Linked DNA regions of Homo sapiens: regions 2 and 3 are each linked to region 1. The links are contacts of gene promoters, found by promoter capture Hi-C in blood cells and fetal thymus (Javierre and others, 2016). All regions are on one chromosome and are shown on one strand. The core of a region is centred on a gene start or on the middle of the fragment in contact, and the rest is flanking DNA. Distances in the headings are between cores, read along the strand shown. Region 1 holds the start of ERCC4 (ERCC excision repair 4, endonuclease catalytic subunit). Region 2 overlaps SNX29 (sorting nexin 29). Region 3 holds the start of NTAN1 (N-terminal asparagine amidase).

Region 1 (4,504 bases), core at 677-3,176:
TGCCCGTTCCACATCACTCTGAACTCGGCCTCCTGTCACATCTCTGAATCTGACCCTCCTACCTCTCTCTTTCTCTTATAAGCACATTTGTGATACATTGAGCCCACCTGGATAATCCATATAATCCCCCCATCTCAAGAACCTTAACATACTCACATCTGCAAACCCCCCTTTGCCACATAAAACAACCTACAGGCTCCAGGGATTAGGATATGAACATCTTTGGGAAGCCGATATTCTGCCTACCACCGCTTGGGAGTCAGGTTTGAATTTCAGCTTTGTCATTTCAATCTTCATTTCCTAAATATGTGTTGAGTACCCCCATATCACGTCCTGAAATAGATCTAAGAAATACACTAACTAGCTCCCGTGGCCTTGCCCAAGTTATATAACCTCCCTGCACCTCCATTTTTCTCACTGGCAGAACTGACGAGATTAATATCTGCCTCAGAGGAAACGCTGTATGTAAAGTGTCTGCCGGCAACCCTTTCCACTTAAACAGCATTCAGGAATTATATGCTATTTTCATCTTGACAAAATGTAAGCAAAATACCAGATTAAGCAGTAAAGAGGTAGAGGAACAGATCCTCTTGGAAACGGCTAGTGTGAATGTGAATTGGTATAGGCTTTCTAGAGGGCAATGTGGCAATGTGAATGGAATGAAAAGCCTTACAAATTTTTTTCTCTTTATCCCAGTGATTATTCATTTCTAGACGTGTATCTGAAGGCCACGGCTGAATTTACATACAAAGATGTTTAGTGAAATATTATTTATATTACTGGAAGGGAAAAAGCAGAAACAGACTAAATGTCCTCTAATAAGCAATTAGGTAAGTACACCCACATAATGGAAATCTCATCAGCCATATAAAAGGACTTTGTAAAAGAATATGAAACATCATGTTCAGAGGTTTGCCAAATGTTAATGACAAAGCTGGGGATTTAAATCAGGGATATTAATTATCTCGTGTCGGTAAAAGAACTCCGTGTGATGAGAGAATGTGTATATAGATAGAAAAAAAAGGACTAAATAAAATAGATTTCGTGATGTTAACAGTGGTTATTTCCAAGTAATGGAAACAAGTGATTTTCATTTTTGTTTACTTGTATTTTCTATTTTCTAATAACAAAGGTGGGGGGTTTCTATACAAAACAATTCCTCTACTAGTTCAACTATCAGGCATTTCTAGGTATAGAACAAACACTGCGGGAGGTGTCCCTCTAGTGGAAGGAGGGATTTTTAAAAATAGTTTATTGTATTGAAGTCTTTGGGAGGCAAACAGAGGTCTGAAGTCAGTAAATGATTCTGCTTATTCCACAGCCACTGCACTCCAGCCTGGGCAACATATCAACATCCTGTCTCGGGAAAGAAAAAAAAAATTAAAAGAAGGATGGGGAGTAATCGCAAAAGGAAGGGCCAAAAACCACCCTAGGAAACAGGTGCTACTAACTCTTGGCGCATTTGGAATATTGACCAGTAACTTTTTCAACTGTCGATGTCGGGGGATTAAGCTCCTTAGGCTTACTTCCCCTTCCCTTGCTTTTTGGCAGCTTGAGGCTAGGGTGCCAGGGGATGTGGAAACTCAAAAGAGACGTGAATGGAGCCTGATATCTGCAAGCTACACCGACAGGGGGCGCCAGCCCCTACAGGTGACTCCATGAATCTTCGGCTCCACTCGGCTCTTCTTCGGCTGAGTTCGGCCAACGCTTGCCTTCTCAGGCTCGGCTCTCTTCGGCTTTCTGAGAGCGCGCCTGTCGTGGCCTCGGCTCCTCTTCGGCTGCGTTCGGCCCACGATCATCTCAGTCTCAGCTCTCCTCGGCTACGTTCGGCTGGCTGCCGTCCTCTCGGACTCGGCTCTCTTCGGTTGAGTTCGGCCTACTCTCCACTAGGAGTCGGCTTCCTTCGGCTGCGTTCGGCTGCGACCCGGAAGAGCTTCCATGGAGTCAGGGCAGCCGGCTCGACGGATTGCCATGGCGCCGCTGCTGGAGTACGAGCGACAGCTGGTGCTGGAACTGCTCGACACTGACGGGCTAGTAGTGTGCGCCCGCGGGCTCGGCGCGGACCGGCTCCTCTACCACTTTCTCCAGCTGCACTGCCACCCAGCCTGCCTGGTGCTGGTGCTCAACACGCAGCCGGCCGAGGAGGTGCGGCCGCGCTGGCGCGGGAGTGAGGGGACTCCGAGAGTGTTGAGGGCCTCCTGAGCGGATGCGAGGCCTCTGACAGGGATGGAGGGGCTCTGAGGGGGATTCAGGCCCCTGACACTACGCGATGACACAGAGAAGGATGGCAGGGGTCCCCAGGGGGATGCAGGTCCCTCACACTGCGGGAACACAGACGTATGTAAGGGGTCGCTAGGAGGATACCGGTCGCTCACACCGTGCGGGGACACTGATAAGAATTGGAGGGGCCCCGAGAAGGCTGCAGGTCCCTGGCAGGAGTTGAAGAACACTAAGAGGAATGCCAGTCCCTGACACTGTGCGGGGACTCTGAGAGGGAAGGGAGGGGTCCCAAGAAGGATGCAAGTCTTTGACCAGAGTTCAAGAACACTAAGAGAAATGGGAGGGGTCCCCAGGGGATGCGGGTCCCTGACACTGTGCAGGCACAGTGAGAATGATGGAAGGGGTCCCGAGAAGGATGCAATTCCCTGACAACACTAAGAGGGATGGGAGGGGTCCCCAGAAGGATGCAGGTCCCTGACATGGGTGCAAGGGCACTGAAAGGTGAAGGGGCTCTGAGTGGTAGGAGAGGATCGGAGGTCGCTGCAGGGGAGGGGGAGATGTCGGAAGGAGGATCTGGATAGGAATAACGGGAGAGTCCTGAAGTTGGCCATTAAGGGAGTTTCTGGGGGCAGAAGGAAGGTCCCTGAAAGGGAACAGTGATGAGGATGGAAGATCTCTGAGGGTGATGGGGAGACATGAAAGGAGATGCTGAGGCGCTGGAAAAACCCCAATAGGGAAAAGGAGGGACCAGGAAATAGGACATTCACCAAGGCTGTGTTAAGAGGGCCATAGGGTCAGAAAGGGATTGGAGCTTGACGCTGAGGATGTTGGCAAAGGTTAACTACAGTTAAGGACAATGGAGAACACTGAGAAAGATGGAATGGGGCTACACATGGGTCTGAGGGGTGTTGAGAGGGGACACAGCTTGGTCGGACAAGTCTGATGATCCCCTAGATATATCAGGTGGCCGGGAGAAAAATGTCAGCTGAGAAGAGTGACCACAGTCTCTTTGAGGGCAGGGATCCTGTTTGATTCATCTAGGTATCCCCAGTGCTTGGCATAGGGCCTAAGGCAACACACAGGGCCTAGTAAAGATGGTTTTAAACTGGGGATATAAATAAACCAAGCCAAGGGACCCAGTGACATGAAGTCCCTCTAGGATAGATTAGCACAGAACTGATAGTCTAAAACATTGTCTGGGGAAAGGATTCCCTTGTTATCATCTCATAGAATGTGCTTGGCTACAAACCTGGCTTTGGTGGGAAGTATTTTCTAGGTAGCAGAAATCTTTTAATCCAGGCTTTTAAAAGTTTGAGGTTTTGTATGTGTGTGCATATGTTATTGTAGTTGAGTGCTGATAATGACTGAAGTGCAATTATTCCTTAGTGTAAACCCCAAAACAAGAAAACCTCATTAAATGTAGACTGGTTGGCTGAAGTTACTATAAAGAAGTAACTTAGTGTGTATATTCATTATTAAGTTCATTATCTCAGAGAAAGACAGCACATTATTTTAAATATCTGTGACCTATTAAAAACTGCCCTGTATTAAATAGCCTACTAATCAAGTTTGATTTGATTTAGGAGTATTTTATCAATCAGCTGAAGATAGAAGGAGTTGAACACCTCCCTCGCCGTGTAACAAATGAAATCACAAGCAACAGTCGCTATGAAGTTTACACACAAGGTGGTGTTATATTTGCGACAAGTAGGATACTTGTGGTTGACTTCTTGACTGATAGAATACCTTCAGATTTAATTACTGGTAAGAATTTGAAATCTTATTATTAGTATGTAAATTTGTACTTTTTTTTTTTTAAGTACAATTTCCATTTTATTTTTCTCCAGAGAATAGTCTGTCTTCAGTCTTGAAGGACTCAGCTCCCTACATCACCTTTGGTAGGGGTCGTGGGGCAGCACCCACAGGTCTAAATCTGGGTGGGGGTGTTCGGTCCTTGCAGGCTTCACAAGATCGATTCCTGACTACTTTGTTGTGAATTGCACAACTCACACAGTAATTTAGCTTCACATACATCTTGGGAAGCACATAGGCGTCGAAGATGCTCGCTTCAGAAATGTCCCTGACTGCTGTGGCCTCCACTGTGTTTTGAATGACGAATTTCTTAATGGCTTTATCCTTGGGCACACATCAGGCACAGTTCGTGCAGCAAATAGGCTGCACATGGCCGCAGCCCTTTTTGGCATGACCGTTGTCCTTTCTTTTCTTTGTCATCTTGGAGGCACGGACCGGAGAGGGTATTTTCTACATTTTTATTTTTGTCTGT
Region 2 (4,504 bases), core at 711-3,210, 1.8 Mb before region 1:
ATGCCTGTAATCTCAGCACTTTGGGAGGCCAAGGTGGGAGGATTACTTGAGGCCGGGAGTTCAACACCACCAGTCTGGGCAAGTGAGACCCTGTCTTTACAAATAAAACAACAACAAAAATTATCCAGATGTGGTGGTGCATGCCTGTAGTGTCAGCTACTTGGGAGACTGATGTGGGAAGATCACTTGAACCCAGGAGTTCAAGCCTTCAGCGAGCTGAGATTGCACCACTGCACTCCAGCCTAGTTAACGGAGTGAGAACCTGTCTTAAAAAAAAAAAAATTGGAAAATGCAACAGTAAATGAAAAAAGAAAATCAGTCTTAACCCTCAACTTCATTATGTTGTTGATGTTTTGGTACTTTTCCTCCTAGTCATGGTGTGTGTGTGTGTGTGTGTGTGTGTGTGTGTGTGTGTGTGTATCTCTGTTAACCATGTGATGACCGTGCTGTTCTCACCAAAGACACTAAACTTTATTTTTCATGTTGTAAATTATTTGTAAACATACAGTTGATTCTTATTATTCCCAGTAGTTGTATTCTATAAAGTTGCTATGAAGACTGAACCAGTGCTCCTAGGGGAAGTACATGGTTAAGTTGCTTTGAGGCTCTGGTCACACATTTTGTTTTTGAGATGAACTGTTGCTCTTTTGCCCGGGGCTGGAGTGCAGTGGCGTGATCTTGGCTCACTGCAACCTCTGTTTCCTGGGTTGAAGTGATTCTCCTGCCTCAGCCTCCCAAGTAGCTGGGATTACAGGCATGTGCTACCACACCCAGATAATTTTTGTATTTTTAGTAGAGAAGGGGTTTTGCCATGTTCGCCAGGCTGGTCTCGAACTCCTGACCTCATGTGATCCACCCGCCTCGGCCTCCCAAAGTATTGCGATTACAGGCATGAGCCACCACACCTGGCCTGGTCACAGCATTTTTATCAACTGATCAACACATAACCTGGTTTTATGTCTGTTCCTGTTTAAAGACACCTTGTTTAATGTATGCAGTTGATTCATTAACATTGAATTCACAGCCAGCAGCACTGTAAGCCATGCCTGAATGAAGCATCTCTAACTCACAAATTATCTCCATACGGCACATCACAGCCTTCCTGTGCTTAGGAACTGTCGGCAGTACCACTTCAGCACTGTGCTTGGGGACATTTTAAACAATAAAATCAAGTGGAAAAAAAGGCCGGGTGTGGTGGGTCATGCCTGTAATCCCAGCACTTTGGGAGGCTGAGGCAGGTGGATCACTTGAGGTCAGGACTTTGAGACCAGTCTGGCCAACTTGGCGAAACCCCATTTCTAGTAAAAATACAAGAATTAGTCGGGTGTGGTGGTGCGGGCCTGTAATCCCAGCTACTTGGGAGGCTGAGGCACAAGAATCGCTTGAACCCAGGAGGTGGAGGTTACAGTGAGCCGAGATCACGCAAAAGAAAGAAAAGTGGAAAAAAAAATGCTAAAAACATGGCAGTAAATAGACAGCAAAGAGGATGCTTGTTTACGGTGTGAGATCTGAGGTCCCAGCTGTTCGACTTCAGCTGAGATTATGCACATTAGGGAGTGAAATTATTGGCCTCTGCACGTGTTCATGAATGATTGTGAAAGCACCTCAAGTATTGACTTTGGGGTTACAAATAAATTTTAGTGCGTAGATGAATTTCCAAATACGGAATCTGCAGATAACGAGGCCTGACTAATTTCCAATGACTGCCTCTATCCCTTCTAGTAGAGGTACCGGAGTAAACCGACCTCTGCTAGTTTTTGGAATGGTGAGGGTGTGTACTTTCAGTGGCCGAGTGTAACTTCCTCCTGCCTGCTTTTTCCTAGTGTGGAAGCCAGCTCTCCAGGCCACGGAAGTCCTCTGAGCAGCCTGTTACCTTCTGCCTCAGTGCCAGAGTCCATGACAATTAGTAAGTACTTTCGCAGCCCCCTCCACCAGCTCTGGGATGACTTCTGGCCCACGTCTCATGGCGGTGCCTTTGTGCTTCTAACCCTGTGACTGTGGGTTCACGTCAGGTGTGTACGTCCCTGGTTGTAGACTGGAGGTGTGGTACGTGCTTGTGGATATCCAGAACCGTGGTTAATGCGTGGCGCTTGGGCGTGTGCGCGCTAAAGGGCGTGCCTCAGGATGGAGCAGCCTTGCCGTAGACTTCTGTGGTTCCAGGTTTTGGGGTTTGCCTCCCATAATGCAGTTAGCTACAGAGGACCTATTCTAGTTGGATTTCCTTTGTAACTCTGAAGGACTCATTTTTGTAAGTGAAGAAGAATATGTCTCTCCAAGATGATTAAACTTTGCTAATGATCAGGCTTCAACTGTTTCCAACTTTACTACCTAGAAAAAGTATTAGAGATATAGCAAGGAAGACTAGGTTTGAATGGCTTTGTATAACAAAGAATAAACCAACTGTTATGTAAACTGACGGGTGCTCCTGGTATCTCACTGGTGGCTTGAGCCAGCATTTGTCCCATGGCCTCCCCTGGAGGCAGAGGGGGCACTTGTTCCCAATTAAAAAAAAAAATTAGCTTTTGTTGCTAAGGAAGGAAGAAGGCGTTTGGGAGGCACCTAGCATTTTCTGATTCAAGGGTGAAGCAGGAAGTGAGCAGACACTATGTAAACCAACAGTTGGTTTATTTTTTGTACACAAAGCCATTCAGACCTACTCTTCTTGAAGTTCCGGTGGTTAAGGAGATGTGATGGAAATTTCTCTCTATCCAGAGGTAGATGGGCTGGGGCTGGTATGTGGCTCCACGGCCATCAGAGACCGGGACTCCTCCTGTCTTGCCTTGTAGACCAAAATAGCCATTTTAGCTCCAGCCATTTCATTCTCATTCCAGGCGGCAGGAAGGAGGAGAGAGCAGAGAGACTTCGTCTATTTCTACATATAGGATTCAGGGGCCTGAGCTTGGATAGGGAAAAAAATTACAATGTTTTTCATTTAGCTCTGGGTGAAATATAGTATTTTCTTCAATCATGATCATTCTATTTTGATGTAATTGGTTTCCTTTGTGATATGGTATGTTTTATATATTTTAATACATTTTCCTGAATAGGAGCCCATGGTTATTCCTAGATTACAAAATGGGCTCTTGGTACAAAAACGTTGAAGCTCCCCCGACCTTCACTAGAAGGTGCTTACAGTATACCACTCGTGTCTTGGGCCAGCATTCATGTCATGGTCCCCCTTGGCTGCAGAGGGGGCAATTGTTCTTGATAAAAAGGAAATTAGTTTTTGTTGCTAAGGAAGGAAGAAAGAGTTTGGGAGGCACCCAGCATTCTTTGATTCAAGGGTGAAGCAGGAAGTGAGCAGACACCGTAAGGCTGCTGCGTGGGAACGGCTGGCCGCACTTTTTGTATGTGAGCATGTGTGGTTTACTGTGGCGCTGCTCAGCCCTGAACTCCGCTGAGCAGGTGTTAATAGATCACTCAGTCCATGGGACACAGGGTGGGTGAGTATGTAGCTGGCTGCTTTTCACCTGTCAATCTTTTGTTTACCACAGTACTGTTACTTACCCTATAGTTTACTTTATTATTCATTTTTATTTATTTATTTTTTTGTAGAGTTGAGGTCTCACCATGCTGTCCAGGCTGGTCTTGAACTCCTAGGATCAAGCGATCCACCCGCCTCAGCCTTCCAAAGCGCTGGGATGACAGGCATGAGCCACCGTGCCCGGCCTACTACAGTTTACTTTTTTTTTTTTTTTTGAGACAGAGTCTTGCTCTTGTCTCCCAGGCTGGAGTGCAATGGCACGATCTCAGCTTACTGCAACCTCCACCTCCTGGGTTCAAGCGATTCTCCTGCGTCAGCCTCCCAAGTAGCTGGGATTACAGGCCCACGCCCGGCTAATTTTTGTATTTTTAGTAGAGATGGGGTTTCGCCATGTTGGCCGGGCTGGTCTTGAACTCCTGACCTCATGATCTGCCGGTCTCAGCCTCCCAAAGTGCTGGGATTACAGGTGTGAGCCACCGTGCCCAGACTGTAGTTTACTTTTAATGATGCACTTAAACAAATTGAATTCCTTTATTTTTTGAAAAAGGAAGCTTTATCTCACTACTGTAAATGGAGAGTCACTATGAGTTAACGAAACCAGCAGGTCGCTGTAAAATGAAGACAGTGGAAGGAAACTATTACTAAGTGTGCCTGGCGTGGTTGCCTGCCCTGGGTTCCGATTGATACCCACTCTTGTTGTTCAAAAGAGAGATGAGTGCTGCTTCTTTTTGGCCCCGGCCTGTGGCAAGTATCTCAGTCTTCATACTGCTGGGAAGCTCTGTAACCACCAGCAAGACCAGAAGTGGGGTGATCAGCAGTGCAGGAAAGCCCATTTGGGTGCAGTCCCCGCACCTAGCCCTTTTGGAAGTGCTTCTCCAAAAGGGAATTGTGCCGGAAAAGTAGGGATTGAAACCAAACAGCCACATCCTGCCATCAGGATGCTCTTTATGGCCCCACTGACCAAGAAATCACAGCTTCTGTACTCAGTGATGACTGCTTGACTTCAGTTGAGGACAACAA
Region 3 (4,504 bases), core at 688-3,187, 1.1 Mb after region 1:
CCCAGGCGGCTTGCCCAGCTGCGATGCCCTCACCCTTCTTCTCCTTTTCAAATCTCTCTCGTGCCTGCATCCTTCTTCACTTACACTGCCGCAAATCAAAGTGATCGCCCCCTTCCAAAGTTCCTGTAACACAAACTGGTCCCCAGTACACAGCCTTTCTAGGACATGTCTTCTTAAATAGGCCAAAACCTTCCTTCGAGAGAAGCAGCCCCGGTATGTCACCAAATCTCCCTCCACACTTAAGTGTGCAGCCCGGGACACCCATCTAACTTTCTATCACGGACATTTTCAAACAGACATAAAAGTAGAGCATCCCCTAAATTCTTCAGGCGGCTGAAATTATTTTTCCTTGGTGAGTCCTACTCTTGACTTCGCTAGCTAACAGGACAGTAACACAACGCAAGGATAAAGTGACACGCCACCACGCCTAGCTCGGTGCATGTTGGCTAACAGACGATGGTCGGTCCTGAAATGCAAGCTGAGAATCACACAGAGCTGTCTGCCTTCTCCCCGTCAGTAAGTCCTTGTCACCCTTCAGAACACGTTCAGGGGTCATTTTGTGACCTCATTTATGCAGCAAATCTTTACTGAGCGCCAATTCTATGCCAGGGACCGTCCTACACTCTGAGGATACAAAAGTGAGGACACTACTCTTATCTGCCTTCAGGAGGCTTACATTCTGGCGACAGACCAATAGAGAACAAACAAGCAAACAAAATAATCACAAACTGTACAGCTGTGACAGATGAAACCTCTAAATGCCTTCCCCAACCCAACACACTTGGTCAGGTTCCTGTGCTTCCCATCTCAGAGTGAAAGGGGACGCTTTTTCTTTATGGTACTTAACAGTTTATAGTATCTGAGCCTTCTTCATCAGAAACCATTCTCCCTTCTAGACTATAAACACTCCGAGGGCAGGGACAGTGATCAGTACGTTGCCCAACAGATATTAGGGGCTCGATATTTGACTCTCAAATCAAGGAACTGATTGATTCCCCTTTAACAGGATCTATGGCAAATAGGACGTCTGCCCCCGCCGCCACGCCCCGCTCTTTTTAAAACCTGAGAACCCCCTTGCCAACAGTCCCTGCATAAGCGTGGACAAGAGTTCAGAGATCTATTTGAGCACAAAAGCAGAAAAAACAAAAACAAAACCCGTGCATCAGGGCGTGGTCCTATGGCCCAGCTGCGGAAAGCAGGGCTCTCTCTCCCGGCTAAAAATAACTCGGCGCCCTACGCCCCGGGGGTAGGGGAGAGAGAGGAGGAAGGACTGGGGGTCCCCGCCAAGATCCCCCAGGCCAAACGCTCTCCGAAGCCCACCCTGGAATAACCTCCTGCTTCACGGGGACGCAAGGACGAAGCAACGTTCACCGCAGGCTGCGGGTCCCCGAAGGCGGGCGGCCGGATTTGCCTAAACGGACCCAGCCCTATGGGGGCTGCAGCCGCCCCGTCGGGGAATGGGGGTCCCGGCGTGTCCCCGAGCCGCAGTGCTGTGCGACCTTGGGCAAGTCACCTAACCTCTCTGGGCCCCCGTCCCCTCCCTTGTCAGAGAGTGGCCTCCGGGGCAGCCCGCTGAAGTCTAAAGAAGGCAAAAACTCCCCGACCCCTCAAGGGGAAGACGCGAGCCGACGGCCGGGGCTCCGGATGTGCCAACAGCGCCAAGTTTCAAGTCTGTGTCGCGTGAGGGGGGCGCTAGCCCGCCCTGCAGCTTCCCCTCGGGCCCGCCCCGAAGCCCCGCGCCGCGCCCCACTCACCTCCAAAGGCGGGTGGGCTCGGACGAGGTCCCCGGCTGACTGCGGCAGCCGCACTCGCCGCCCCTCGACGAGCAGCGGCATCGCGGAGGCGGCCGCCCAGGCAGGCCCAGGGAGGCGGCGGCCCCCCGCTTTGCAGCCCCGGGCCGCCCGCCGCCCCCGCCCCTCGGGCCGCGCGTCCCGCCTCGTCCTGCCCCGCCCCACCGCGGGCGCTGCCGGGAAGTGGAGTCCAGGCGGAGGCGGTGCCGGCCGAAGAGACTGGAGAAATCCAGGACATGGCCGCAAGGCCTCACGGGAAATGTAGTCCAAAGCCAGGAAGTGGCCCTGGAAGCAGCGCGCGGCCCGCCTCCTCCGCAAGGGGCGCTGGGAAGTGTAGTCCCAAAAGCGTGGGAGTGAAGGAGCGGGGAAAGGAGAGCTGCCAGGGAGCAGCTGCACCAGCCAAGAGAGCCTCCGGGCGAGTTCCTGGGGCGGGTTCTGGCTCCGACTGCTGCGCTTTAGGTCATTGCTCCACGCTTCCCAGGTGTGTGACCTTCCACAAGCTTGAGTTTGGGACCCTGCTGTGCAGCTCCGTAGGATTGCATTCAATGAGTAATAATAAACCTAATCAGGCGGGCACGGTGGCTCACGCCTGTAATCCCAGCACTTTGGGGGGCCGAGGCAGGAGGATCGCTTGAGGCCAGGAGTTCGAGACCAGCCTGGGCAACATAGTGAGACCCACCCTCCCCCATACCCTCGTCTCTGCCAAAAATTTAAAAATTAACTGGGCACGGTGGCATGCACCTGTGATCCCAGCCACTCTGTAGGCTGAGGCGGGAGGATCTCTTGACCCCAGGAGTGGGAGGCTGCAATGAGCTATGTTTGGGCACTGCAGAGGGACACTCTGTTTCTGAAAATAATAAAAATAAATGTAAACGGTCTTAAACTGAGAAAATAGATCCTGAACTGTGCTAGCCCCACGTACTAAAGAGATCATCGATTAACACGTCGTGATTGGAATGCAATAGGCCACTCACAGGTGGGCTGGGAACCGTGGGGGAAGGATTTGCGGATACTGACTGCAGAGCCCCTAATCTGAGGACAGGTCCCCAAGGTGAGAGGCGTCTCACCGTGGAGCTCTCTTCTAAAACTTGGAAATATTGCTCAAATTCATCCAACTCTGCAGCACATTAACAAAAAGTAATTTTACAAAAGATACAGAGGAGCCACATGATACAGCAGAAACTTTATTAGAATTTTATCATCTGTATTCATCGTCTTCTTTCATAAATCTCCCCCTCAGCTTACACACCCCGTTCAACAAAAATACCAGGAAATTTACTAAAGAAATGACTGTAGAAGATGGTGTTCCCATCGCCAGGTTACCCAACTTCTCACCCAAAATAACTCTATTTCTAGCTACCAGGAAATTATTTCTCTGTATTATTACACCTACATTTCTCATTTGTCCTTACAAATGTAGGAGCTACTATCAACACCTCATTTGTCATTTGTCCTCACAAATGTAGGAGCTACTATCAACACCTCCGTTATAACAGATACAGTAACTTGCTCAAAGTGGTAGAAATAAGTAGTAGAACGAAGACTGAACCTAGCTTTGCATGATTCCAAAGGCAGTGCTCTCCATCACTATAAGATGCTCCTAGACTGTACTGTAAACAACTCATTCTAATGCAGGTGACATTAAGTAAGTCCCAACTAGGAAGCTCGGAGCTAAAAACAGGGTTTGAAACCAGGGTGATCAATGACCAGCAGGCTGGCCTGGAGCAAGTTACTTAACTTCCCTGAACTGGTTTTGTAGAATAGCATGTTTGTTTCACCTGGTACATACTAAACACTAAAGATAGCTATTATTGGAATTGCAGAGCAAAGAGTAGTCAATCAAAGTGAGGCATTTGGAAGTGCAAAGGTGAAGAACAAGGTTCTGTGGGTTCTGCCTGGGGCTGGTGCAGTTTGCCTAACTGGTTTTTCACTTTTGGGTGATCTTTTTTCAAGTAATCTCAGGTTATCAATCTCCTAGGCTGAGTACTGTGTTAAAGGACTAAATGAGCCAGATAACAAGCAGGAAACCACTCCCCTACCTCTCTTCCCACCCAGCTCCACAAATTTTGGTCTACAGGCAATGAGGAAGCAATAGCAGGTGTGTGGCCAGCACTGCGGCTCATGCCTGTAACCCCAGCACTTTGAAAGGCCGAAGGAGGACTCACTTGAGCCCAGAAGTTCGAGACGAGCCTGGACAACACAGGGATCCCTGCTTCTCCAACAAATACAAAAATTAGCTGGGCATGGTGGCAGGCCTGTAGTCCCAGCTACTCGGGAGGATCAATCAAGCCCTAGAGGTCAAGGCTGCAATGAGGCACGACTGTGCCACTGCACTCCTGCCTGGGTGATTACAGCAAGACCGTCTCAAAAAAAAAAGAAAAAGAAAAAGAAAGCACTAATTACAATGTTGGAAAGCCTGTTTCTTTAAGATAGGAAACCAACCTGCCTCACAAGATGGCTGATGGCAAAGTTCAAAGAATATATACAGGGAAATATTTTTTAAATTACACTTTTTTGAGGCCAGACATGGTGGCTCACGCCTGTAATCCCAGCACTTTGGGAGGCCGAGGCGGACAGATTGCTTGAGGTTAGGAGTTCAAGACCAGCCTGGCCAACATAGTGAAACTCCATCTCTACTAAAAATACAAAAATTAGCCAGGCATGGTGGTGCGTACCTGTAGTCCCAGCTACTCAGGAGACTGAGGTGGGCGGAT

Evidence for each region. The method cuts DNA at HindIII sites, captures the fragments that hold promoters and counts their contacts. A CHiCAGO score of 5 or more calls a contact.
Region 2: a fragment that was not itself captured here is called in contact with the fragment with the promoter of ERCC4 in region 1 in 1 of 17 cell types (naive CD8 T cells); the score reaches 8.9 in naive CD8 T cells.
Region 3: a contact is called between the fragment with the promoter of NTAN1 here and the fragment with the promoter of ERCC4 in region 1, in 1 of 17 cell types (fetal thymus). The highest score is 6.5, in fetal thymus.

The regions. Positions count from the first base shown.
Region 1 is chr16:13,918,228-13,922,731 of GRCh38, forward strand. It overlaps ERCC4 (ERCC excision repair 4, endonuclease catalytic subunit), which reads left to right and starts at 1,927. Exons shown (of 11, transcript NM_005236.3): 1 at 1,927-2,145; 2 at 3,804-3,984. The coding sequence starts at 1,939. The region is part of intron 1 of LOC105371093 (a long non-coding RNA gene); the gene reads right to left. LOC124903647 (a long non-coding RNA gene) reads right to left here and starts at 1,851. Exons shown (of 2, transcript XR_007065001.1): 1 at 1,452-1,851; 2 at 1,238-1,356. It also overlaps the pseudogene RPS26P52. RefSeq lists enhancers at 1,511-1,560, 1,771-2,130, 2,171-2,380. The HindIII fragment of the contact is 6,939 bases long and covers 1-4,504 here.
Region 2 is chr16:12,077,010-12,081,513 of GRCh38, forward strand. SNX29 (sorting nexin 29) reads left to right here. Exons shown (of 21, transcript NM_032167.5): 11 at 1,824-1,906. It also overlaps the pseudogene RPS23P6. Among named protein-coding and RNA genes, the nearest start is that of SNX29, 100 kb to the left of the region's middle. The HindIII fragment of the contact is 4,146 bases long and covers 1-4,033 here.
Region 3 is chr16:15,054,137-15,058,640 of GRCh38, forward strand. It overlaps NTAN1 (N-terminal asparagine amidase), which reads right to left and starts at 1,938. Exons shown (of 10, transcript NM_173474.4): 1 at 1,755-1,938. The coding sequence starts at 1,835. It also overlaps a transcript of PDXDC1 not described here. RefSeq lists a silencer at 1,309-1,493. The HindIII fragment of the contact is 4,402 bases long and covers 1-2,288 here.